Linked DNA regions of Homo sapiens: regions 2, 3, 4, 5, 6 and 7 are each linked to region 1. The links are contacts of gene promoters, found by promoter capture Hi-C in blood cells and fetal thymus (Javierre and others, 2016). All regions are on one chromosome and are shown on one strand. The core of a region is centred on a gene start or on the middle of the fragment in contact, and the rest is flanking DNA. Distances in the headings are between cores, read along the strand shown.

Evidence for each region. Contacts are between HindIII fragments. The CHiCAGO score rates a contact against its expected background, and 5 or more counts as called.
Region 2: a contact is called between a fragment that was not itself captured here and the fragment with the promoter of CENPU in region 1, in 3 of 17 cell types (total CD8 T cells, total CD4 T cells and erythroblasts). The highest score is 5.4, in total CD8 T cells.
Region 3: a fragment that was not itself captured here is called in contact with the fragment with the promoter of CENPU in region 1 in 1 of 17 cell types (neutrophils); the score reaches 5.2 in neutrophils.
Region 4: a fragment that was not itself captured here is called in contact with the fragment with the promoter of CENPU in region 1 in 1 of 17 cell types (activated CD4 T cells); the score reaches 5.2 in activated CD4 T cells.
Region 5: a contact is called between a fragment that was not itself captured here and the fragment with the promoter of CENPU in region 1, in 1 of 17 cell types (naive CD8 T cells). The highest score is 5.0, in naive CD8 T cells.
Region 6: a fragment that was not itself captured here is called in contact with the fragment with the promoter of CENPU in region 1 in 7 of 17 cell types (non-activated CD4 T cells, activated CD4 T cells, total CD4 T cells and 4 more); the score reaches 8.0 in non-activated CD4 T cells.
Region 7: a fragment that was not itself captured here is called in contact with the fragment with the promoter of CENPU in region 1 in 2 of 17 cell types (total CD8 T cells and activated CD4 T cells); the score reaches 6.1 in total CD8 T cells.

Annotation. Positions count from the first base shown.
Region 1 is chr4:184,731,704-184,735,345 of GRCh38, forward strand. It overlaps CENPU (centromere protein U), which reads right to left and starts at 2,393. Exons shown (of 13, transcript NM_024629.4): 1 at 2,313-2,393. The coding sequence starts at 2,359. RefSeq lists enhancers at 1,833-2,699, 1,850-1,969 and a silencer at 2,340-2,399. The HindIII fragment of the contact is 4,927 bases long and covers 1-3,642 here.
Region 2 is chr4:184,274,325-184,278,103 of GRCh38, forward strand. LOC105377582 (a long non-coding RNA gene) reads right to left here. Exons shown (of 6, transcript XR_939552.3): 3 at 2,853-3,004; 4 at 1,497-1,722. Among named protein-coding and RNA genes, the nearest start is that of MYL12BP2, 38 kb to the right of the region's middle. RefSeq lists an enhancer at 876-2,075. The HindIII fragment of the contact is 361 bases long and covers 1,462-1,822 here.
Region 3 is chr4:184,321,043-184,324,579 of GRCh38, forward strand. No RefSeq gene overlaps it. Among named protein-coding and RNA genes, the nearest start is that of MYL12BP2, 8.5 kb to the left of the region's middle. The HindIII fragment of the contact is 3,269 bases long and covers 1-3,166 here.
Region 4 is chr4:184,290,404-184,293,923 of GRCh38, forward strand. LOC105377582 (a long non-coding RNA gene) reads right to left here and starts at 3,209. Exons shown (of 6, transcript XR_939552.3): 1 at 3,146-3,209. It overlaps LOC124900825 (a long non-coding RNA gene), which reads left to right. Exons shown (of 2, transcript XR_007058413.1): 2 at 3,291-3,520. The HindIII fragment of the contact is 9,454 bases long and covers 1-3,520 here.
Region 5 is chr4:184,416,704-184,420,313 of GRCh38, forward strand. IRF2 (interferon regulatory factor 2) reads right to left here. Exons shown (of 9, transcript NM_002199.4): 3 at 2,766-2,865; 4 at 1,829-2,005; 5 at 1,464-1,510. Among named protein-coding and RNA genes, the nearest start is that of LINC02362, 36 kb to the left of the region's middle. RefSeq lists enhancers at 780-949, 1,140-1,439, 1,318-2,517. The HindIII fragment of the contact is 6,751 bases long and covers 1-3,610 here.
Region 6 is chr4:184,256,543-184,260,148 of GRCh38, forward strand. No RefSeq gene overlaps it. Among named protein-coding and RNA genes, the nearest start is that of ENPP6, 40 kb to the left of the region's middle. The HindIII fragment of the contact is 5,367 bases long and covers 1-3,606 here.
Region 7 is chr4:184,385,860-184,389,384 of GRCh38, forward strand. IRF2 (interferon regulatory factor 2) reads right to left here. Exons shown (of 9, transcript NM_002199.4): 9 at 1,870-3,207. The coding sequence ends at 2,899. Among named protein-coding and RNA genes, the nearest start is that of LINC02362, 5.3 kb to the left of the region's middle. RefSeq lists enhancers at 514-1,272, 3,278-3,525. The HindIII fragment of the contact is 195 bases long and covers 2,121-2,315 here.

The sequences.
Region 1 (3,642 bases), core at 1,143-3,642:
TAATTAGACTTTAAAATATGCCATGCAGATTGCAGCCATATTTTTCTCATTTGTAGACAGCAAAATCAGCTTAGTCTAAACCAATGTTTTAGTATCCTTTTATCTGATATAATTTCAAGCTCACAGAAAAGTTGCAAACATAGCACAAGGACCTTCTGTATGCCCTTTACTCATGTGCTCTGTGTGTGTGTGTGTGTGTGTGTGTGTCTGGAGATACTGTGCACTTCCACCCCTAAATACTACAATATGTCTTTCCTAAGAGGGCATTATACTGCATATTCATGGTACAATTTCTAAAATCAAGAAATTTAACACTGATACCATAATCTAATCTACAGTCCATACCCAAATCACATCAATTGTCCTATAATGTCTTTTAAGATTGCCAGGCCAGCATTTTTAAAAAAACAAACAATAAAAAAGGAAAATATAAAATGAAGCATTGCACTGGATATACTATGTTCACAAGCCTTTTGTTTTATGTGTGGATGTGTGCACACGTGTACTAAGTGTGATGTAAAACATCATTACTGTGAATCACAGTTAAAAAAAAAAAGTTAGAAAACTGTTCAGAGCGGTGGTTCCCAGACTTGAGTGTCATCAAAATTCTCAAGAGGGCTTGTTGAACAGGTTGCTTGGCACCACCCCAGGAGTGTCTGATTCAGTCCCTCTGGGGTGAGGTCTGGGATTCTGCATTTCTAACAAGTTCACGATTTATTTATTTAATTCATGAAACCTAAGGAAGCAGGTAAGACAAGTATTGGTTTTATGGCAATTTTATAGATGATGATTCCGGGATTCAGAAAATTTAAGTGACTTATCAAGGGTCACATAGCCAGGTAACAGAAACCCAGCTACACACTAGACCACATAAACTTCTTAACCTAAACTCTTTGAGCTGTCTTGTCCTTTCTTGGGGGGGAAAAAAAGTCAAGGTTCCTCCTTGCCTTACGCTGGAGTCAAGGTGGGGCTTCTGAGAGACAGAAACCTCTGTGACAACCCACAGGTAAAATTTCTGGGCCAGGCGCGGTGGCTCATGCCTGTAATCTCAGCGCTTTGGGAACCCCAGGAGGGCGGATCACGAGGTGAGGAAATCAAGACCATCCTGGCCAACATGGTGAAACCCCGTCTTTACTAAAAATACAAAAATTAGCTGGACGTGGGGGCGAGCGCCTGTAATCCCAGCTCCTCTGGAGTCTGAGGCAGGAAAATCGCTTGAACCTGGGAGGCGGAGATTGCGCCACTGCACTCCAGCCTGGGCCACAGAGTGAGACTCCGTCTCAAAAAAAAAAAAAAAAAAAAATTCTGTTGTATGTGCGTAAGTGTGTTTTGGGAGGAGGCATGAACAGATTTCATGAGTCTCAAACCCAAAAATGTTAAAAGATAAAAATAAAAAAAGACAACAAAAACCACTAGCCTTTCAGATAAACTCTTTTCAGCTGACATTGAAGGCTGACATTCTCTTCTAATCCTTTTTTGCACTGGGGGAGTCTTCATTCTCCTCCACTGGCCACAGAAGTCTGGTCTCGGTTTCCCCACCCACCTGCGGTGTCCTGCTCCAGCTTTTCCACCCTAACCCCGCATCTACCAGCACCTCCTCCTCCAGGCAGCCTTCCCAGGCCCGGGGGAACTCCTGTTCTCTTCAGATCGTCTTGGCGTATGGCTTTGTGCACCGTCTGCAGCAAGCCGAGACCCTTCCCGCCAGATCCAGGCCGGGCCTTGGATGGCCATTCGCCAACGAATCAGCGACCAGCATTCTAGAGCGCGTTTTGCAACCGACCAAACGCTCGCTTTCTTTGGTAAACAAAAACCGCTCGAGCCATCCTGGAGAACCGCAAGCGGCAGCTCGGTCCCCCAGCCGGATTTATGCTCCAGTTTACGGTCTGTGGTTTGCAGTAAGAAAACACCAGGGTCTTCAAAATAAGAAAACTGATTCCCAGTCAGAGAATAAAACTCCACTAACAAAGTCTGGCAAACCGCAGGCAATACGTATTTGCTGAATATTTTGCTTTCAAGCTAGCACTTTGAGACTCACTACTTTGGACGGCACTCCCCCTCCCCACAAAACGACACGACACTGGCTGACGTCTCTCCCACCCGCCAGGCAGTGTTAGGCCCCGACAGGCCCGTGCAGGTGGGATCACTGTTATCCCCACTAGACTGAGGAGGAAGCCGGGGACCCGGGCGATTGGCCACTCGGGCGACCTCCACAGTGGAGCACCAACAGCGCCGGGAGGCGCAAACCACGGCAGGCGAGGAAGCAGTTCAAGCTGGTCTCCGGCCCCGCGCTCCCGAGGGTCGGCAGTACTTACCCCTCAGACCTGTGAGGCCGCGGCCGCCGCCGCCCCCGCGGGGCCATGGTGCCGCTCTCCGCTCTCGAGCGACTGGAAGCTCCCGCCAAGCCCCTCGCCGCTCCGAACAGCCAATCCGGGCCGAGCACGCGCGCGTGCGCAGGACTTCCTGAGCGGCCCCCGGGCTCCTCCCTGGCCTGGAGCGTGAGGGAAAACTGGGTCTGGTTATTACAGCGCAACGGAGCTGGAGTCCATGCCGCACAACCAGTTACCTACGGTCCAAAACATGCCAAAGTTTTCCGGGCTTTCGCGCCCACCCGCATCGCCAGTTTTCCGGCGCCAGAAAGCCCGGGAGCCACGTGGGACGGCCCCTTGTGGGGTGGGGAAAGGGGAGGAGCTAGTGTCCCTGAGTCGTGGGCAGGTAAGAGGGTGGGTGGAGACCCGTGTTCGCAGCTGTTGTCGCTGAGGCCGCAGTCGTCTTTCCAGGCCTACAGGATTTGGCTTCCAGCCCCTGCTGCCTTTATCAGCTGTCTGAGCTTAGCATGTTACTTTACCGCTATCCCAATACCTTCATTTGTAAATGGACAGGGTTCCTTTTGTTCTTTTATTTTGTTTGTGTTTAAAAATGTGTAATGCAGAAGAATGTAATTGAACCCTTACCTTACACCGCGTATAAAAATTAACGCAAAATGAATCAAAGACCTAACTATAAAGGCTAAAATTAAAACTCTTAGAAGAAAACAGAGCAAAAACTTCATAACATTGGACTTGGTATGATTTCTTGGATATGATACCAAAAGCAGTTTGGGATGATGAAAACGTTCTGGAAATAGTGGTGGATGGATGCACAAGGTGAAGGTACTTAATGCCACAATACTGTAAAGTTAAAAACGGTTAAAATGCTAAATTTTGTTATGTATATTTTACTACGACAAAAATATTACGTTTCATGCATATGAAAGAATATAACGTGTAATGTAAAGATAAAAACAAACATCCGTGTAACCAGCACTACATGGGGATATGGATCATTTTTATATATAACTCTTGGGTACCCCTCTGAATGGTATCCTCCTCCTCCAAAGAATAACCACTCTTCTGATTTTATGTGTATCATTCCTGTGGTTTTCTACCTTGATATAGCCCCAAATAATGTATTGATTATTGTATGTTTCTAAACTTTATATGATATTTGGTAGGTATGCTGCAAGTGCCCTTTCTTACTAAAGCTATTGCTTTTATTTTTTATTTATTTTATTTTTCCATAAATTATTGGGGTGCAGGTGCTATTTGGTTACATGAGTAAGTTCTTTTTTTTTTTTTTTTTTTTTTTTTGAGTTGGAGTTTTGCT
Region 2 (3,779 bases), core at 392-2,891, 460 kb before region 1:
TTACAACCAACCAACTTACAGGGGGCATTTTGGTCTTTAACCTGTTTATTAAATCAGACACTGCCTGAACTTTCCTCTGAAGGAAGAGAGGAATGAGTATTTACTGAATGCTAATTAAGTGCTACTCACATTACTGGAATGCTTCTCTCTGATCCACCAGCCCCAGGAGAAAGGCCCTGTCCTCATTTTGCAAGCGAGGAAATGGAGGCTCAGAGGAAAGGGTTTATCTTCCCCCTGGGCTCGGCAGAACCAACAGCCAGCCCCAACTCCACCCCAAAGCCTGGATGTGGCCGTGGCTCCAGAGTGGGCCGCCCCTTTCACCATCTGTGCATACTGGGTCGGAGCTGAAATCTGTGATCACCCTTCTGAGCCCTACCCCAAGGACACTGAATCATGTGGTCAGGCTCCCAGCTCAGCACAGCCCTGACTATCAGCTCCATGTGTTTAGCAGCCTGGCCCCAGAATCAAAGCCACTGTTGAGGACACTCAGTATGAAGGAGACCACTTCAGGCCAGTGACAGATTCTCTCCTGGACCAAACTCGACTGAGGCTCCCCTGAGCCCTCTTCTCAACTAGGCCTCAACCCTGGCCTAGAAAGACTTGGACAAACACTAGCATGGCTTCTCATAGCTCAAGGCCGCATCCCTAGGTGACCCCAGCCACCTTGGGTGTCCTTGGGAGGCAATCCCAAGGACACACAAGGCTGCCAAACAAGTTTGCCATTTGCTCCAGCCAACACCCAGAGATCGGGCCCCTGTGCCCCAGTCTGTGAGGGAGGCTGTTAACAAACCCAGGTGGGTTTCTCATGGACCAAGCCCGCTCTGCTGTTTGTAGTTTTCCACTTCTCTGACCCCACTGAGCCCTGGTCACCCCTGCCCAATTCTCTCACTCTCCCTTTAAAACGCCCAGTCTCTACTGCACAAATCAAACTGGAGTTCAGTCTGGGCTGGGCCTTCTCCCTATTGCAATAGATATTACAATCCTTCTTTACCACTTAACTAGCATCTGGCTTGGTTTATTTTTGAGACCAACAGCTGGGGCAGGTGGAGCTGCCCCTCGGTGACAGTCCCTCTTAATACTCCACTGCCTACCCCACCCTCGCTGCTGTTCTGCTGCCTACACCTTAACACTGGCCCTCAGAACCACTCGACTCGCCCCCAGTTACCCGCAGCCTCCTGACTTCTGCCTCTTCCACAGCCCTTCCTGGATGTCCACTTCTCATTTCCAGGAGGAAAATAGGAGTTGCCTGAGTTGGGCTGAGGCATGAAATAGAAAAGTATTTGGGCCTGTTAAGTGTTCCGGATTGCTGAAATAGCCCATCCAAGCCCCACTCTTTCCTGAGTTTATTAAAGGAAGTGGGGAAAGCTCTGTGCTTTTCAGTCTAAGAGCTGGGTGCTGCAGAGAAAGGAGATGTTACTGGGAACACCGACCACCACGTCAAAGGTGCTACTGGGTCCCAGAAGCTTGGGGCAGCTTCTGCAGGGGTCAGTGCCTACCAGTGGAGAAGAGGACTCCAGTCGGGAAGGAAACAGAGCGGCTGGGTTCTTGGTCATCCTTGCAGGGGAGGAATTCTTCTTCACTTAGGTCTTAGCTGCCCAGTCTTCAAAACCACTTCAGGTATCTGCAGTGTACAGGGAGCCAGCTGGGAATTTCCATGGGAGTTGGGGGATTTCCAGATAGCATTTCCTCTTGAGCTGTGCATGACACTTGATAGGCCTAATGCTTTAAAAGTTTTCAGGAAAAGAGTCAGGTGTTCAGTTTTGTTAGGCATTATTTTACTTTGTGATGAATGTGTGGATGGCACACCCCAGCAACTGAGCCAAGCTTTTCCCTGTGGATTTGGGCAAGTACCTGTGAGTGTCAAGACTAAAGGGTGTTGATATAGTTTGTGTGTCTCTGTGTCCCCATCCAAATCTCACCTTGAATCGTAATAATCCCCACGTGTCAAGGGTGAGACAAGGTGAAGATAATTGAATCATGGGGGCAGTTTCCCCCATGCCGATCTCATGACCGTGAGTTCTCATGAGATCTGATGCTTTTACAAAGGGCTTCCCTCTTCGCTGTATACTCATTCTCTCTCCTGCTGCCCTGTGAAGAGGTGCCTTCTGCCATGATTGTAAGTTTCCTGTGGCCTCCCCAGCCATATGGAACTGTGAGTCAATTAAACCTCTTTTCATTATCAATTACCCAGTATCAGGTATTTCTTCACAGCAGTGTGAGAACAGACTTATACAGTAAATTGGTACCAAGAGTGGGGTGCTGCTATACTGGTACGGAAAAATGTGGAAGCAACTTTAGAACTCGGTAAGAGGCAGAGGTTGAAATAGCTTAGAGGGCTCAGAAGAAGACAGGAAGATGCGGGAAAGTTTGGAACTTCCTAGAGACTTGTAGAATGGCTTTGACCAAAATGCTGATAGTGATATGGACAGTGAAGTATAGGCTGAGGTGGTCTCAGATGGAGATGAGGAACTTGTTGGGAACTGGAATAAAGGTCGTGCTATGCTTTAGCAAAGAGACTGGTGGCATTTTGTCTCTGCCCTAGAGATCTGTGGAACTTTGAACTTGAGAGAGATGATTTAGGATATCTGGCAAAAGAAATTTCTAAGTGACAAAGTGTTCAAGAAAAACAGAGCATAAAAGTTTGGAAAATTTTCAGCCTGATGACGTGATAGAAAAGAAAAACCCATTTCCTGGGAAGAAATTCAAGCAGGCTGCAGAAATTTGCACAAGTAATGAGGAGCTGAATGTTAATCACCAAGACGATGGGGAAAATGTCTCCAGGACATGTCAGAGAACTTCACAGCAGCCCCTCCCATCACAAGCCTGGAGGCCTAGGAGGGGAAAATGGTTACCTGGGCCTGGCCCAGGGACCTGTTGCTCTGTGCAGCCTTGGGACTTGGTGTCCTGCATCCCAGCCATTCCAGTTTCAGCTGTGGCTAAAAGGGGTCGAGATCCAGCTTAGGCCATTGCTTCAAGCCTTGGCAGCTTCCATATGGTGTTGGACCTGCAGGTGCATAGAAGTCAAGAATTGAGGTTTGGGAACCTCCAACTAGATTTCCGAGGATGTATGGAAATGCCTGGATGTCCAGGGAGAAGTCTGCTTCAGGGGTGGAGCCCTCATGGAGAACCTCTGCTGGGGCAGTGTGAAAGGAAAATGTGGGGTTGGAGCCCCCACACACAGTCCCCAGTGGGACGCTGCCTACTGGGCCACCATACTTCAGGCCCCAGAATGGTAGATCCACCGACAGCTTGCACTGTGCTCCTGGAAAAGCTGCAGACTCTCAATGCCAGCCTGTGAAAGCAGGCAGGAGGGGGCTGTACCCTGCAAAGCCACAGGGTCAAAGCTGCCAAGACCATGGGAGCCCACCTCTTGCATCAGTGTGCCCTAGATGTGAGACATGGAGTCAAAGGAGATCATTTCAGAGCATTAAGATTGAATAACTGCCTTGCAGGATTTTGGACTTGCATGGAGCCTGTAGCCCCTTTGTTTGGGCCAATTTGGAAGGGGACCATTTACCCAATGCCTGTACTCCCATTGTATCTTAGAAGTAACTAACCTGCCTCTGATTTTACAGGCTCATAGGCAGAAGAGAGTTGCCTTTTCTCAGGTGAGACTTTGGACTTGGACTTTTGAGTTAATACTGGAATGAGTTAAGACTTTGAGGGACTGTTGGGAGAGCATGATTGTGTTGTGAAATGTGAGGGCATGAGATTTGGGAGGGGCCAGGGGCAGAATGATGTGGTTTGGCTCTGTGTCCCCACCCAAATATCACCTTGAA
Region 3 (3,537 bases), core at 282-2,781, 410 kb before region 1:
AAATCCATTTTAATTTGTATTAATTACTGAATAATTTCCTGTAGCATAATTGTTAAATTATTAATGAATACCATGAATTGTTTATTTTATTATGAAATAATTCTTTTTAATATACTTATTAATCTATCAGTGATAATTATTAATTAACTTACCATATGGATTAATTAATGCATAATGATGAAGTAGGTTGAGAAGGGCTGTAGCAAAAGATGGAACAAAACCAGGGGGATAAGCAAGAAAAGAACTCTGCTATGTCATGGGGCTTCCAGAAAATCAGATGAAAACATTCTGCAACTGGAAAAGTACATGTTCTCTTCTGTAATATGTCCTCTGCATAAATGTTTTAAAACTTCAAGTCGCCTTACCTGATCTTTTGTTTTTTTTTTTTTTTGAGACAGAGTCTCACTCTGTCGCCCAGACTGGAGTGCAGTGGCACTATCTCAGCTCACTACAACCTCCACCTCCAAGGTTCAAGCGATTCTCCTGCCTCAGCCTCCCATAGTCAGCTGGGATTACAGGCATCTGCCACCACACTTGGCTAATTTTTGTATTTTTAGAAGATACAGGGTTTTGCCACGTTGGCTAGGCTGGTCTCAAACTCCTGACCTCAGGTGAGACACCCACCATGGCCTCCCAAAGTGCTGGGACTGCAGGCATGAGCCACCGCACCTGGCTGTCCTACCTGATTTTTAAGGAGTAAGTAATCATTTGTGTAGATTTTAGTTTTTTGTTTGTTTGTTTTTATTTTTTTTAAAAAGTATAACATTTGGCCAGGTGCGGTGGCTCATGCCTGTAATCCCAGCACTTTGGGAAGCCGAGGTGGGTGGATCACAAGGTCAAGAGACCAAGACCATCCTGGCCAATATGGTGAAACCCTGTCACTACTAAAAATACAAAAATTAGCTGGGCGTGGTGGTGCACACCTGTAGCCCCAGCTACTTGGGAGGCTGAGGCAGGAGAATCATTTGAACCCGAGAGGCGGAGGTTGCAGTGAGCCGAGATCATGCCATTGCACTCCAGCCTGGTGACAGAGCGAGACAGCGTCTAAAAAAAAATTATATATATATATATATATATATATACACACACACACACACACACACATAATATTTAATATGTCAACAAGATTTTTAGATTTTTTTCTTTCTTTTAACTTTTATTTTAGGTTCAGGGGTGCATATGCAGGTTTGTTATGTAGGTAACTTACGTGTCATGGGAGTTTGGTGTACAGATTATTCCACAGCCCAGGTCATAAGAATAGTACCTGACAGGTAGTTTTTCGATCCTCACCCTCCTCTCTCCCTCCACCCTCCAGAAGGCCCTGGTGTCTGCTGTTCTCTTCTTTGAGTCCTTGTGTACTCAATGTTTATCTCCCACTTATAAGGGAGAATATGTGGTGTCTGGTTTTGTTTCTGTGTTAGTTGGTTCACGTAGGATAATGGTCTCCAGCTTCATCCATGTTGCTGCAAAGGACATAATCTCTTTCTTTTTTATGGCTGTATAGTGCTCCATGGTGTGTATGTATCACATTTTAGATTTCTTATTTTAAAAAAATTCAATGCCCCCAAAATGTAATCACCTACAAACATTTCACCAGGTGAAAACTTTCTCATCCCACAAACTTTAGGCCATGGACAGTATGCTTTTCCAGAATCTAGGGAAAAGTTAAAGCCCTGGGCACAAGGTAAATTCACTTAGAATTTCAGGGTAGATACTGATTTTTATTAGGCTCTTGTGCCACTCACAGAAATGCCACATGCTCTTAGTCATCAGCCTCACACTAATACCTGTATACCACATCCTATTCAACAGAAAGGAATATCCACTTTAACACCCATCAGGAAAAAAAAAATGCTCTTTTTAAAATAAATCACTGACAATTTTCTCAAATAAAATGTCGGATCAAAAAATAAATGCAGGCCAGTCATGGCAGCTCATGCCTGTAATCCCAGCACTTTGGGAGGCCAAGACAGGTGAGTCACAAGGTCAGGAGTTCAAGACCAGCCTGGCCAACATGGTGAAACCCCGTCTCTACTAAAAACACAAAAATTAGCCAGGTGTGGTGGTAGGTGCCTGTAATCCCAGCTACTTGGGAGGCTGAGGCAAGAGAATCGCTTGAACCCGGGAGGTGGAGGTTGCAGTGAGCTGAGATCATGCCACTGCACTCCAGCCTGGGCAATAGAGCGAGACTCTGTCTAACCAAAAAAAAAAAAAAAGAAAGAAAGAAATGCATAAACAAATGTATCCCTACAATGGGATATTATTCAGCCATAAAAAGGAATGAAGGGCTGGGCGCAGTGGCTCACACCTGTAATCCCAGCACTTTGGGAGCCCGAGGTGGGAGGATCCTGAGGTCAAGAGATTGAGACTATCCTGGCCAACATGGTGAAACCCCACCTCTACTAAAAATACAAAATTTAGCTGGGCGTGGTGGCACGCACCTGTAGTCCCAGCTACTCAGGAGGCTGAGGCAGGAGAATCGCTTGAACCCAGGAGGCCGAGGTTGCAGTGAGCCGAGATAGCATCACTGCACTCCAGCTTGGTGACAGAGCAAGACTCCATCTCAAAAAACAAAAAACAAACAAGCAAAAAAAGGAATGAAGTTCTGACACAGGCTACGACATGGATGAACATTGATTGGAAACATGCTGCTAAGCGAAAGAAGCCAGACCCAAAAAAGAAACACTGAATGATTCTGCTCATACAAGGAACCTAGAATTGGCAACTTCATAGAGGCAGAAGGTTGAAGAGACGTTACCAGGGACTGAGGGGAGAGAGAGCTGCTGTTTACTGGATATGGAGCTTCTGTTTGGGATGATGAAAATAATGAAAACATTTTTGGAAATAGATGGTGGCAATGGTTGCACAGCATTGTGAATGTAATCAATGCCAGTGTACCGGCCTCCTAAAAGTGGTTCAAATGGCAAATTTTATGTCTATTTCATCACAATAAAAAGTACAAATATGAAAATAAATGACGACTTGGAACACCTTGAGCCATAGAGTTCCGCCTGGGGGTCTTTGGCTGAAAGGACAGACTAGACTGTGTTCCCACGGCTTTTCCATCCCAGAGCACTCACAAGCCCATCTCCTCCATCTCCACGGCCCCTCCCCCCCATTCTGCTGGCCTGACGGCTCTGCTTCCGATCTCAGCCCCACCAGGAAAAGCTTCCAGAATCACAGAAACACATTCTGGGAAATTAGTTTTCTTAAAGCCTTTGCTTTTGGTTTTAATAAAAAAAAATTAAATATCTTGAAAGCAAAACTGCCATCTAAAGCAGGCTAAAATATAACTGCAACTTTAGGAAAACTTAATTATACATGCTATCAATGTACTGGCCCATGATCAATCTATCTACATTTCCCTTTTCTCTCATTTCAGAAAGTAAGAATAAAGTGGCTTTGCTTAAATATAAAAACCTAATCTCTCTTCTCTTCTCTTCCACTTCCTTGTATTAGATTGTCTTCCAGAACTAACCAAGAGGTCCCTAAAGCTGGCTCCAGAGACAGGATCCTTTGAGAATGTCTCTACTCTTT
Region 4 (3,520 bases), core at 973-3,472, 440 kb before region 1:
TCGCCCAGACTGGAGTACAGTGGCACGATCTGAGCTCACTGCAACCTCCACCTTCCAGGTTCAAGCGATTCTCTTGCCTCAGCCTCCTGAGTAGCTGGGATTACAGGTGTGCACCACCACACCCGGATAATTTTTGTATTTTTACTAGAGACGGGGTTTTGCCATGTTAGCCAGACTGATCTCAAACTCCTGACCTCAGGTGATCTGCCAGCCTCGGCCTCCCAAAGTGCTGGGATTACAGGCATGAGCCACTGGGCCCAGCCGGGTCATACATTCTTAATCACCTCAGATTACATGCCTGAAAGTTGGGTTGCTGGGTCAAAGGACATGCAATATATACACAGTAGTCTCCCCTCACCTGCTGTAGGTACATTCCAAGCTCCCCAGTGGATGCTGAAACCACGCATTTCAGAACCTTCTGGAAACTGTCTTTTCCTATTGCATACATACTTATGATCAAGTTTAACGTATAAATTAGGCGCAGTAGAAGATTAACAACAATAACTAATAAAATAGAACAATTGTAGCAATATACTCTGATAAAAGTTGTGTGAGTAGGGTTTTTCTCTCTCTCTCTGTCAAAATATCTTACTGTATGTAATATTTTTGGACCATAGTTGAACACAGTTATAATATTTTGGACAGCATGGTTTCAGGTAACTGAAAAGCAAAGCGGCGAAGAAGGGAGAACTACTGTATGTTTTTTACTGTGTGTGTGTGTGTGTGTGTGTGTGCACGCACGCCTACCTAGCCCTACCTATCTCATCTATCTAATCTATTGCTTTTAAGGTGGTATTTTTTCCAAGGTGTCTTTCTATAATAATTAAGCCAATTTATACTCTCACTACAGCATATATAAATGTTTTCTTATACTGTCTACAGAAGGGTTTTACTTTTGTTTTTTGTAGGGCAGATAAATAAATATAGTATCTTATTGATTTTACATTTCTTTCATTGAGAATAAGACTGGCTACTTTCATATCGTTTTTGACAGTTCATTTCTTTTCTTTTGATTAACAGCTTATTTTTTATTTCTACTAATTCTGTGTGTGGTTGTTCACCTTTATTTTTGTTCTTACCAATCTAAAAACTCTCACACAGGTTAAGAATGTCAGCCTACATCTGAGTGTCAATAAGGTGCAGATAGTCAAGGAATAATGCCTCACAGTGTAGTGACATGCTGCCACAGAAGAGGCCCCCAGGAAAATGCAGTTTGGGAGCCCCTTAAGCAAATATAACTTCATGGGAAGATTGTCCTTCTTTGGTCTCTGATATGGTTTGGATCTGTGTCTCCACCCAGATTCATTTGAATTGTAATTCCCAACGTAGGAGATGGGGCCTGGTGGGAGATGATTGGATCATGGGGGCAGTTTCTCATGCTTTTCATGGGGGCAGTTTCTCATGCTTTACTACCATCCCCCTTGGAGCTATCGTCCTGATAGTGAGTTCTCACATGATCTGGTTATTTAAAAGTCTGTGGCACCTCTCTGCTCTCTTGGTCCTGCTCCTGCCATGGAAGACACCTGCTCCCGCTTTGCTGTCCACCATGATTGTGTGTTTCCTAAGGCCTCCCCCAGAAGCAGAAGCTGCTATGCTTCCTGTACAGCCTGCAGAACCATGAGCCAATTAAACCTGTCTTAAAATACATTCCTCAGTCTCAGGCATTTCTTTCTTTATAGCAGTGCAAGAATGGACTAACACACTCTCCATATTGACACCTCGCTTGTAAAGCTGGCCGATGCAGCATTGCAATCAAGTGGTAGATTTTGAATGTCTGAGTGTGATTAGACTCTAGTTGTTTGTTGTTAAATGATTGGTCTGAGTGTGATTAGACTCTAGCTGTTTGTTGTTAAATGATTGGTGAATGATGCCATCACAGGCCAGAATGTCCAGCCAGCCTCCATAGCAGGACCATCCCCGCTTATAGGAAATGGAAAGGCTCAGAGACTCCAGAGTGGCCCAGCACTGCCCCTGCCGTCCACCAGCTGGAATCAGGGCAGTGCACCTCCCAGTCTGTGTGTGTGTATGTGTGAGTGTGTGTGTGTATGTCTGTGTGTGTGTATGTGTGTGTGTATGTGTGAGTGTGTGTACATATGTGTGAGTGTGTGTATGTGTGTGTATGTGTGTGCGTGAGTATGTGTGAGTGTGTGTGTATGTGTGAGTGTGTGTATGTATGTGTGAGTGTGTGTGTGTGTGAGAGAGTATGTGCGAGTGTGTGTGGAGGGGCGGGGGTCTTGCAGTTGGTCATAGCTGCCCTTTACTTTCTCACAGTGTGTGTATGTGTGTGTGTGAGTGTGTGTGTGTATGTGTGAGTGTGTATGTGTGTGTGGAGGGGAGGGGATCTTGCATTTGGTCATAGCTGCCCTTTACTTTCTCACAGTGTGTGTGTGTGTGTATGTGTGTGTGAATGTGTGTGTGTATGTGTGTATGTGTGAGTGTGTATGTGTGAGTGTGTGTGTGTGTGAGTGTGTGTGTGTGTGTGTGGAGGGGAGGGATCTTGCAGTTAGTCATAGCTGCCCTTCACTTTCTCAGTGTTTTTGTGTGTGTGTGTGAGTGTGTGTGTGAGTGTGAGTGTGTGAGAGTGTGTGAGAGTGTGTGTGTGGAGGGGAGGGGAGGGGTCTTGCAGTTGGTCATAGCTGCCCTTCACTTTCTCTTTTGGTCAAGAGTTCTCCCTTTCTCCTCGTTAGAGAAAGATTGCCTTTGTTTTGCCAGTTTCCTGAAAGTCTGTATTTTCCGGGTATAAGCTCACTCATTGAGAAGAAGAGAGCCTATCCTTTCACCTCTAGAACAAGAAAGCCAGTGGGTAGTAAAATACACATAATGAAAATGATGTGTGCCCTAAACTTCAGGTGAACCAGCGAGAGTGTTTTACAGCACACACTCCAACCTAGAATCATTCACACGGGTCCAAATCCCAGCTTCACTCTCATCGCTAGACATAGGGCTCAATGTTCCAAATTTTAGCTCTTCTCATCTCTAAAATGGCAATTATATTAGTACCTATGTTTAAGGCAGTTGTGAGGATTAACTGAATTTTGGTCCACCTATGGATGCTGGCACAGCAGGCATTTTATGCGTAAAGTCTCTAATCATTATTTCTCCATCTCAGAATAGAGGAAGATCTCTGTGGGTGGAGGACCCTTACCAAAGTAGTTGGAGGGGACATCTTAGGTCATACGACTCTCTTCTCAAAGACTCTTGTTATATAGGAGTCCTATTTGGTTAAAAGGACTTCTCTTGTTTGTCCTGGATGTGACATCAGGTTTAAAAAAAATCTCACTCCCGTTCAGGAGCCTGGCAACCATGCATTACCCAACAATGGTTACCGTGGCTGCAAGGAGGAAGCAGACAGCAAGCCCACAGAAGTGTTTATTGAAGAAAGGGAAGTCAATAGTCCCTGGAGTTAATGAGTGATTGTTATTTATGGAAGGAATGGTATTTGCAGATGGGAATGACTGCAAAATGCATAGAAGGACACAGCCATGCCCTTTCCACGGAAGTCACAGAGCACACCTCAACA
Region 5 (3,610 bases), core at 238-2,737, 320 kb before region 1:
TTTGCTTCAAATTCCAAAAAATAGTTCAAAAAAAAGCTGAACTATAAAAAATTGTTTTGGGGCCGAGTGCCGTGGCTCACGCCTGTATTCCCAGCACTTTGGGAGACTGAGGTGGGCGAATCACTTAAGGTCAGGAGTTCAAGACCAGCCTGTCCAACATGGTGAAACCCCATCTCTACTAAAAATACAAAAATTAGCTGGGCATGGTGGCACGTGTTTGTAGTCTCAGCTACTCGGGAGGTTGAGGCAGGAGAATCGCTTGAACCCAGGAGGCGGAGGTTGCAATGAGCCAAGATCGCGCCATTGCACTCCAGCCTGTGCCAATAGAGCAAAACTCCATCTCAGTTTAAAAAAAATTAAATAAATAAATTACTTCTGTAAGTCAAAAATGGTTGAAGGGCTGCAATTTCATGTTAGAAGTCAGGAAATGGGAGGGGCTATTGATGAAGCAAAACTGGCCAGGAGCTGATTAAGGTTAAAATTAATCTGAATGATGGCCTATGGGGTAAATTTTACTCAACTGTCTCCTTCCTATGTGCATAAAATCTTTCCACAATGAAAAGTTAAAACAAAATTAGGCCTTTAATACAGTACAATATTTAAATTTAGTTAAAAATAAAAACTAGTAAAAGTGAAACTGAAAGCATCACTGCAAAAACACCCTCCGCCTAAATTTCTTCATCTGCAAAGGGAGGCCAGGGAGCTCGACAATCTCTCTGAGATCCCTGGGTCTGTGACCGCAGTGTATGCTCTCTGCTCAGCCACTGAAGCTCGTCCCCAGTTTTGCAGGGCATATTCGGCTCTTCTCTTACTATTTAACAAGGGCCACCTAATCTATGCATAAAGATCCTCAGACTGTAGGGGAGTTCAGACGACACAGCCTAGTGAGAAGCTGACACACACATGCACATCCCATGGAAAACCCTTGTGGGGTGTGAGAGATGATTCTACAGTGGACAGAAGGCAGCCATTGAGAGCTGTTCTGATAGAGTGCTGACATTGACCACTCTGTCCCCCACCAAAGGGCCTGTGACGGAATGTCTGTAACATAGAGTTCATACATTGTATAGAGGTCTATAACATTTAATACATATTAAAGTATACTTAATAGCCTGAAAATATACTTAATAGTATGAGAATAAGCTGTTGTGGAGTTTAGCTGGCACAAAATGACCACTGGCAACGGCTGTGGTGGCCAGATGGAGGCCTCAGCCTGCCGAGCACAGTGAGAATCTGTGACTTCATTCATAAATTTCCCAGAGAAACGGGATGAGGCAGGGCCCTGTGTACCTCCATGTCTGCAAGTGGATACATGCTGAAGAGCAAACATGTAAAGCACAGAAGACACAAGCAAAGGAAGAAAGAGGACACACTGAGGTCCTGTGACTCATCTTTACAAGGCAGAATATGAGTCATTAATAGGATCCCAACTTTGGCTTTCTCTCTGAATCACCCAAGATTACCTTGATGTGCTTAACTTTGTCTTCTTTTTCTGTCTTTGGTTTCTTTCCTGTGGCAACAAAAATGTAGTTTTGGATTAATTCACGAAGGGCCTCCAGAGAAACATTTCCCTCAAATTAAATTCTTTCTGAAACTCTCAATGAACCTGTTGCTTTAATCTGTACATGGTCAAAATTCCACATGTATCTTTCACTGCCTCTGGTGAATCGAAAGTCTTGTTTCCAAGCCAGGTAGGGGCGGAATGATCCCCTACAGCATGAACAGGCTATTCTACCTGCAAACTGACTGCAGATGTAGAAATGAAGAGATCACGAAGGCACGATGACACAAATTGATTTACCTTATTTTAGTCTGTAAATGCCTTTACCTTTCTTAGAAGGCCGTTCTGATAGGGGCAGCATTCGGTAGACCCTGAAGGCATTATTTCCTTTCTTTATGCTTTTATCCTTGACTTCTTCAATATCAGGCAAGGAATTCATGGCGCATCTGAAATTCGCCTTCCATGTTTTGGGATCAGGTTTATCTACTCCTGGTTGATGCTTTCCTAACAAAAGAGACAAAGATTAAGAAAAAGAGAGAAAACATTAGATACAGAGGAAGGAATTTCTGGAAACACAGTATTGCTGGTCAGGCAGTATAAGGAAACCTTTTCACTCCATGCTATACCTCCAGTGACCAATCGTCCTGGTGTACCTGGGGGTGAGAAAGTTCTTGGGATGTGGGAATTTTGTTTTTAAAACCTGAACAGTTCCAGTCAAACTGGGACAAGTTGGTCACCCTGGTTCTACTGAACAGCTTGAGGAAACTATAAATGCTGGAAGAATGGAGCATCAGCGTAAGAAAAATATAGAAGACTGAGAGGCTGCAAAGTCAACAGGCAGAGGGAAGCTGAGTGCCTCTTTTTCATCTGACGCTCCAACAAAGTCCATTCCTGTAAACAGCTCCCTACGTAAAGGTTGTAATAAATACAGGTATTTCTGACTACCTTTTTGGGGGGGAGATAAATTTGACCAAAGTTTATAGCATCAGAACAACTGAGTTTCTATTCCCCGGTAACACCTAGGGAACTTCTTAGAATACCACATTTATAGGAAATTGAAGGACTAAGAGTGTATGGGATGAGGGGAGCATTACTTCTGAGGGCTGCAGTTTGTACCCCATGTGTCCTGGATGTGCCTAGGGACAAGTCACAGGTTTTTCAGAGCCATCTTCATGAGGTCATAAGCCAGGCTATTTTATGTGTAATAAAAACAAAACTAAGCAAGAGTGCCTTCCTCTATAAACGCCGCAGGGAGTTTTAGTACCTGTATGGATTGCCCAGTTTCTAAAGAGTGGTGCATCTTTTTCCACATCCCACCCATGTCTAGCCGCATGCATCCAGGGGATCTGAAAAATCTTCTTTTCCTGAAAAAAAAAAAAAAAAAAAAGGTAAAGAACTGGAGTCATGGGTTTTGGCCCACCATTGCAAAAGGTTGTGAAGGTCTAGCCAGCAAGATTCCCCAGCAAGCATCGCTGAATGTGTTGACTGCTGACAAGAAAATCTACTGTAAACCAAACCCACTTCCCCCGCTGGATCCCAAATCTTGATAGACTACCCCGAGTGACAGTCAGTCTCGTGAAGTCTTGCAGAGCAGGAATGTTTTCCAAGGTCAAAGGTGATGATTTGACCTTGTGTGTTCCATTATTTGTGCCTCTTTTCTAGTTTTCAATATATTTTTTTGGAGACAGAGTCTCGCTCTGTTGCCCAGGCTGCAGTGTAGTGGCGCGATATCGGCTCACTACAACCTCCACCTCCTGGGTTCAAGAGATTCTCCCACCTCAGCCTCCTGAGTAGCTAGGATTACTGGCATGTGCCACCACGCCTGGCCAAGTTTTGTATTTTTGGTAGAGATGGGGTTTTGCCATGCTGGCCAGGCTGGTCTCGAACTCCTGACCTCAAGTGATCTGCCCACCTCAGGCTTCCAAACTGCTGAGATTACAGGTGTGAGCCACCACACCCGGCCCTGTGCCTCTTTTTTTTATAAAACCACAGAAAAATGGCCACCTACCGAAACTTCTAATGCTTACTCTTATAATTTATTCTCGTCGTTTGGTAAATAGTAACTCCAGCTATCTTAGGTAAATTAAAAATTAGACAAGTTTCCAAAAC
Region 6 (3,606 bases), core at 302-2,801, 480 kb before region 1:
GAATCAGACACCATATGTCTACTTCAGAGCAAAGTGTATTCAGTCAGTTATTTACTTGGACTCCTAAAGCAAGATGGTAGTAGAAGTTCTTTCTGACCCTCCTAGAGCACAGGACCCTTCTAGAATCAGGTTCCTCTGGTCTTGGGCCTGGTGTCTCATTCCTTTTATTTGGGTCAAGACATGTGCTTCTGTTGAGCATTTGACACAGACCACTAAGAGCGAGCCCTGATATGAAATGGGGGCCTATTCTGCCTAGAGCAGGGGCAGAGCCTGTCTGATTTCCCTCTCCTGAAACTGGGGACTCTAGGAGGACTCATTAGGAATGTTTTTGTTGTTACGTAAGTGAAGGAAAGCTGACTTGAATTAGCTCAGGCAAAGGTTGAGAGTAAATGGTAGTGATACCCCACCAAAAAAGTCCTGTGGAATCCCCTGCTACAGCCTCAGGGGCTGGACAACAAGCACACATGCAAAGTCGTCTTGCCTGGCACACAAAGGTGTTATAAATCATTCTGGAAATACATCACCCTTAAGAAACCCTTCAAAAGCACAGGGGTAGTAATTTGGAGTCTTTGGGGCTTAAAGAAATACAGTGTCACACTTTTCAGGCTCAAAGCCTCCCATTCATTGGAGACTCAATGAAGAAAAACAGAGAGCCTGGCATGGTGGGTGCCTGTAGACCCAGCTACTCAGGAGGCTGGGGCAGGAGGCCCTCTTGAGCCCAGGAGTTTGAGCCCAGCCTGGGCAACATAGTGAGACTTGAGAAAAAGGAGGAAGGAAGGAAGGCAGGCAGTGGGGAGGGAGGGAGGGAAGGAAGGAAGGAAGGAAGGAAGGAAGGAAGGAAGGCAGGCAGGCAGGCAGGCAGGCAGTGGGGAGGGAGGGAGGGAAGGAAGGAAGGAGGGAAAATGATCAGAGAATAGGGGTTTGACTGCTAACTTGAACATCTGAGTGAGTAAGCTATTCGATCTCTAAATTTCCATGTCCAAATTTTGGCTATGGAAGGAGGGAAGGAGGGAAGGAGTGGGAGTGGGGAGGGGAGTTGTGATGTTGCCTTGTGATGGGAGTGGAGATCTCAATGTGCCTGAAGAGAGGGTCAGGATGCAGTCAGGCCTCAGTGACCTCTGTCCTGGCAGGACTCTTCTGCCATCTGGAGTCTAGTTCACTCTGTCATTGGCTTCAGACACTCTGTCATTGGCTCTTCTAGATAGCCAACATATCTCCATCAGCTCCTGAACCTCCAGCTCCCAATCAGGGGCACTGACTCCGTCCCTTCATTCCAACTCAGAAAAGTGCAGGGAGGGGTTCTCATTGGCCTGTCTTGGACAAGGAGGCCCTCTGGACTGACCACCATGGCAGCGCTGAAGTGGTCTGGTTGGCCTGACTTGGGTATTATGCGTACAGCTGGATCATGTAGCTAGGGCAAGGGGCAGGTTTGAGGACCCAGAGCTGCTTCTGGAGGCCCACCCCTAAGTATCAGGCCCTCTAGGAAAAGAGCAGAGTGACCACTGGTCACCCCTCACTGTCACCACCACCCCACAAGTCTGGACTGGGCACGGGAAGGGGTGGAGAAACCCTCAGCTTTAGAGTGGGTGAAAGGAGTCGAAACCATCAGAGCCCCAGGGGAGACTCAAAGTAGCGGCAGGAGCAGTAATGATAGCAAAAACAGTGCCATTCATTGAGCACGTATCTTGTGCCAAGCACATAGAAAGCACTTTACACGTGCTATTTCTAATCCTTGCAGCAGCCTTGCATGGTAGGTGCTATTGGTCCCGTTTTGCAGTAAGAAAATTAAGACCCACAAACTTTATGAGATGCTTCTATAGCCTCAGAGCTCATAAATGCCAGAAATGGTGCTTCCATGAAGGGCCTGGGAAAGGGATGAAGCAGGATGAAGACAGTTGCTCAGGAGGTCACTTAATGCTCCTGCGACTCCCTGTGGCAAAGGGACTCAGCGAGAAAGAGCCTTTTTGGAGGGATTGTGCAGGGTCTCTGGTGGGGGAGGGAGCTGTAAGAAAAAGGCAGCCCAGAGGGAGACTGTGTGCTGGACTGGACCTGGAAAGTTTGGTGAGGACCACAGGTTCTTGGATTGCCTGGGACTGTCCTGATTTCACCCGGTATTTTGACATATGTGATAATGGCACCCCTTTCATTCACAAAAGCAGTGGTGTGCTGGTGAATGTATAAAATAGGGTTTCAAATACATATATACACACACATATGCATAATAAAATAATACATATTGCATATACATATACAATATGCAGTATATATTATTGTCTTATGCATATATGCATATACATGTAGTATGTATATACCATATATATACATACAATGTGTGTGAATATATGTCTATGTATACATATATGCAATATGTATTGTATTATGTATATATGCATACACATATAGTATGTATATACTATATATACACTATATCTATACATACAGTATGTGTGTGTGAATATATGTGAATATATGTGTATGTATATGCAATGAACTGAATGTTTCTGTCCCCCAAAATTCACATGTTGAAATCCTGACCCCCAAAGTTAGGAGATGAGGCCTTGGGGAGGTGATTAGGTCAATGAAGGTGGGCTTTCAGGAATGAGATTAATGCCCTTATAAAGGAGATCCCAGAGACTCCCTTGCCCCTTCTGCCATGTGAGGACACAGAGAAAAGACACCATGTATGCACCAGGAAACAGGCCCTCATGAGACAGAGAATCTGCTAGTGCCCTGATCCTGGGCTTGCTTCCCAGCCTCTCGAACCGTGAGAAACACGTTTCTGTTGTTTCTAGCCCATGCAGTTTATGGTATTTTGTAATAGCAGTCTAAAGGGACTATGACAATATATACACACATACATACACATATTTGAGATCAAGGCTGTGTAATACATGATTTACAATCAATAATAAAATATATGCTTTTCTTTAATGTAAATTTCACATAGCCATCGATTCTCATAGAATACAATTCTGTGAAAATTTTTGGTTGATTTTTGCTAAAACCTTGTATTCTTAGTCAACTTGTGGTTGTAATTCAACCATGATTTGTCAAATGGAGATGCATTCCAATCTGCTAATTCTTTTCCCAATAAGTTTATTGTTGCTAAATCTGATATGTGCGCTAACGTTAAACAATTTCTCATCCTCATGAAAATCATTTTCATTAAACAGAAACCTCTTTCAGCTGCAGCGCTACTCACTACAATCATGCTGCCTTCATAGAGTTGCAGGAATCACAGCATCGTCTCAGTGTGCATTATTTAATAATGGATGCGCTTCATACCTGGCTGCAGAAAATTGAGTGATCAGCTCATTGTGCATTGCCATGAGCAGCCAGGACAACCACACTGCTGTAAGAGGGTCCTATTTCTGCCAATAAACCATTGGCTCACCCTACTTTTAGAAGCTCGAATCTACTCCCTGTAACTGCAGTGTTGGTGACTGTGACACTGTATTCTTAAGGCACCAGTCAAGGGGAGAGTGGGGGGAAGAAAAGGCTATGGGGTGGGAGCCTGGCATCCTGTCTGTGACCTGGGCTCTGTGTAACCTGTGCTTGCAGACTTGTAAACCGCTCCTCACGGGTCAACAGACGGGGCCACTGAAG
Region 7 (3,525 bases), core at 968-3,467, 350 kb before region 1:
CAGTTACACTGAACTTGAACTTGCTATTAAACGCATACGTGCACACACACACCCAAGCCCATCATCAAAGCCTATCAGCTCACACAAATACCAACCAGAAGCATGCGTCCCTGGCACTTCCTCTAAGTGACGACAAGGTCTGAGGCTTGGGTCCAGGAGCTGCCCCAATGCCTTTGTTTTCCTTCCCCATGTCAACCCCAGGCATCCTGAGACTAGCTTGTTTTCCTGCGTTGCTGGCAAGTATCACTTAGAAACAATACAGGCTTTCTCAGAAGGATTTTAAACATGATTCTGTTTTTCATGGCCTTATTGGCAATGGAGTATCATCTCTGGAACTTAAATGGTGCATTTCCAAGTCCTGAATTTTCTTCCACTTGATGGGCCTTGGGAAGTCTAGTTACGCTACAGAAGCAAGGGGAGGGCAGCAGGAATGGCATTCGGGACCGAGATGCAGGAAGAAGCCCTGAGTCTGTGTTGGGAAGAAGGAAGGGGGAGGAGACCTGAGCTACCTTAAACCCTTTGATAACCAGGCCACGTGACTCAGGGCAACCTTCCGTTGCTGTTTTGTTAATTTATTTAAAATAGGATGACTCAGTAAAACATTTTAGATGTAAGTCTCAAAGAACTGAACTTCTCCATTCAGGACCTGGGGGAAGAGCAGGTCTTAACTGAAAAGTCGGGTGCCAAGGAGCCAGGGAGCATCTGTTTCTTCCTGATAACTCCCCTTCCACTGAGAAACTGAGACAGTCAACGAAAGTGCTCCTTCCAGAAGCAGCCCCGCCTCTGTGTGTGGCATTTCAACTACAACGCATCCGCCAGGAAAATGCTCCAGTTGATTTCCATTCAGGGCTGGATAACTTTATGACCGCTAATTATATCTGCAGCCACACATGGAGATAGGCATAAAAATAGCCTTTTGTCCTTTCATTAAAGGAACCTCTTCAAATATTAACTTAGCAATCTCCTCCACAACCCCCCAGAGGTAGTAGGCGGGTAGCAAAGTTTTCATATTCTGATTTTACAGAGTAAGATACTGGGGATGCAGGGGAGGCTGGTGCTGTGGCTTTCTCCAGGCCAAGACTATACCTTCAAACACCAAGTGGCTGATAAAGACTGGTGTTCTTGAAGTCACCCCTTTTATTCCACAAGACAGACCCCAAGTTTTGAGGGCACGGTCTATGTGTAAGGCCTCGGGTCCTAGAAAGACGAGTGACGGACATGGTGTTAGAGCCCAATACATATTTCCTGTTGTGGAAAATGTCTTATCCATGCACCCCTCTAAGTGACATAAACACAAGACGTTTGTCGTACGTGTAAGCCTAAGGATGAAAACAGGAAAGACACAGAGTGGGGTGAACCTTGCTCACAGCAGAGAAGGAAACCAGTGGCGTGGCTAAAATACTCCCCCTCCACAGGGAATGCTCCCAACACAGAGGAAGACAGACATTTGAGATAACGGATATGCTTACAAGAAAAAAGACCCCCTTCATAGCACAGAGAATTGGGCTCAACTTGTGCCCAACTTGTGCCCTTGCCTCTTAGTGCCACTATGAGCCAAGTAAAGGCATCTTCACATTCAGTCTTCATTTCCTCCACATGAAATGGAGATGAATGCCTATTCTACAGCACAAGTGTGATGAATGAAGACGGGAAGTCATGCAAAACGCTCAGCACGGGCCCCTGCTCAGGCGAGCACTCAAGAGAAGAAGTCAACTGAAGCCTCACAGTAAGAACCTCCACGGTTTCTTGTGGTCAACAAGGGAAAACATTTTGGTCCCCAAAAAGAAACAATCCTTTGTCAGTCCTATTCCGTGATTATGCTCTTTTAAAGCAGACACAGACAAAGCCAGGAGTGATGCCCCTTAAAAATTTAACTATATATCATATTCATTTATTATCAATCCACAGGAAAATCTGATTGCTACATGAGCTCATAAAAGCTTTTTTCACCTTTACAAAATTAAAAAAAAAAATGTGCCACAAGGATGTAATAACAACTGCTGATAAACAAGAAAAGGAATCTTAAAATTATAAATTTGCTGTAGAAAAGATAAAAAACAATTATATTTTATTTAGAATTTTACCTTGAATAAAATATTCCCCTGTATAAAAAATAAAAAAGCTTGCTCTGGTTAGAATTAGAGTATTTTTGTCTTCAAATCTGGGAATTTGCATAATATTTCCATGATACTTTTTCCTTTGTACCGCGTGGCATTCAAGCATAGCAGATTAGAAGGATTTTTTTTAAAGCAGTCTGAAAATGGGACATCTGTAGAGAAATTCATTTCCTTCTTCTCCTCCGGATGTGGAATGGAAGCTTTGAGGGAAGGAAAAGTAGGAAAAGAGCGGGATGGGATGGGATGGGATGGGATGGGATGGGATGGGATAGGAAGAGAGGCTGGGGAATGGGCAGAGAAGGGGGTGCTGAGTGTGCTGTGAGATAGAGCAAGATCACAAGAAGGCCTATCTGTAAGTGCTTTAAGATAAGGTGCAGAAGCAGACTGCAATGTCGCTAGTGCTGCCTATGTACATATTCACAAGAATAAAAAATTCCAGCTAGTTCACATTATCTCGTCCGTTCTGAGGCATCCACTCCACCTTGCTGGCCTTGACCGCAGGCAATGCAGCACCTCCACTGCCCTTGTTGGTCCTTGAACTTGAGTGAGTAGCCCTGGGAGATCCAGCAGGCTCTAGAAACACACGTCTACCAATGGGCTGGAGTCCTGAGTTAAAGAGAAGCTCCAGTACTGGAGTTGGACACAGCAATCAATGTTCTATTGTCAAGGCTTTTTCCCTTAGATTTGTCTAAAATAGGTGTCAGAGAGAAAAAAATAAAATACAAACAAACAACAAAACAAAGCCAAGAAGCCCCAACAACCACCGCGGAGAGTCAGAGGCTTAACAGCTCTTGACGCGGGCCTGGGTGATATCCGATGTTTTCTTGATGACGCTGGCCCGGGTCTCCCGGTCTGGCCGACTGCTGCTGGATGCTGGGGTCATGGAGGAAGAAAGGGGGAGGTCTTGAAAAGGGGGCCAGGAGCTGTTGTAAGGCACCGGATTGCTCTCCTCTTTGATGGTGACCTGGAGGTCCGGTTTGTTGGAAGTGACGAAGGACGCCATGCCGGGCAGCAGGTAGGAGCCTCGAGTCCCCATGTTGCTGAGGTACTGTTTGCCTTCAATATTCCTCTTCCGCCAGTGTGGCCGCCCCTTTCAAGAAAGTAATTAAGATATGTATTTCCTTCTCCTTCTATTGGATGGCTTTTTAAAAATGCATCACTGGCCAGGTGTGGTGGCTCATGCCTGTAATCCCAGCACTTTGGGAGGCTGAGGCTGGAGGATCACTTAACCTCAGGAGTTTGAGACCAGCCTGGGCAATGTAGCGAGTCCTCATCTCTACAAAACGTAAGAATTAGCTAGGCATGGTGGTGCACACCTTTAGCCCCAGCAACTCGGGAGGCTGAGGCGGGAGGATCACTGGAGCGCAGTAAGTCAAGGCCTCAGTCAGCTATGATTGCGCCACTGCAC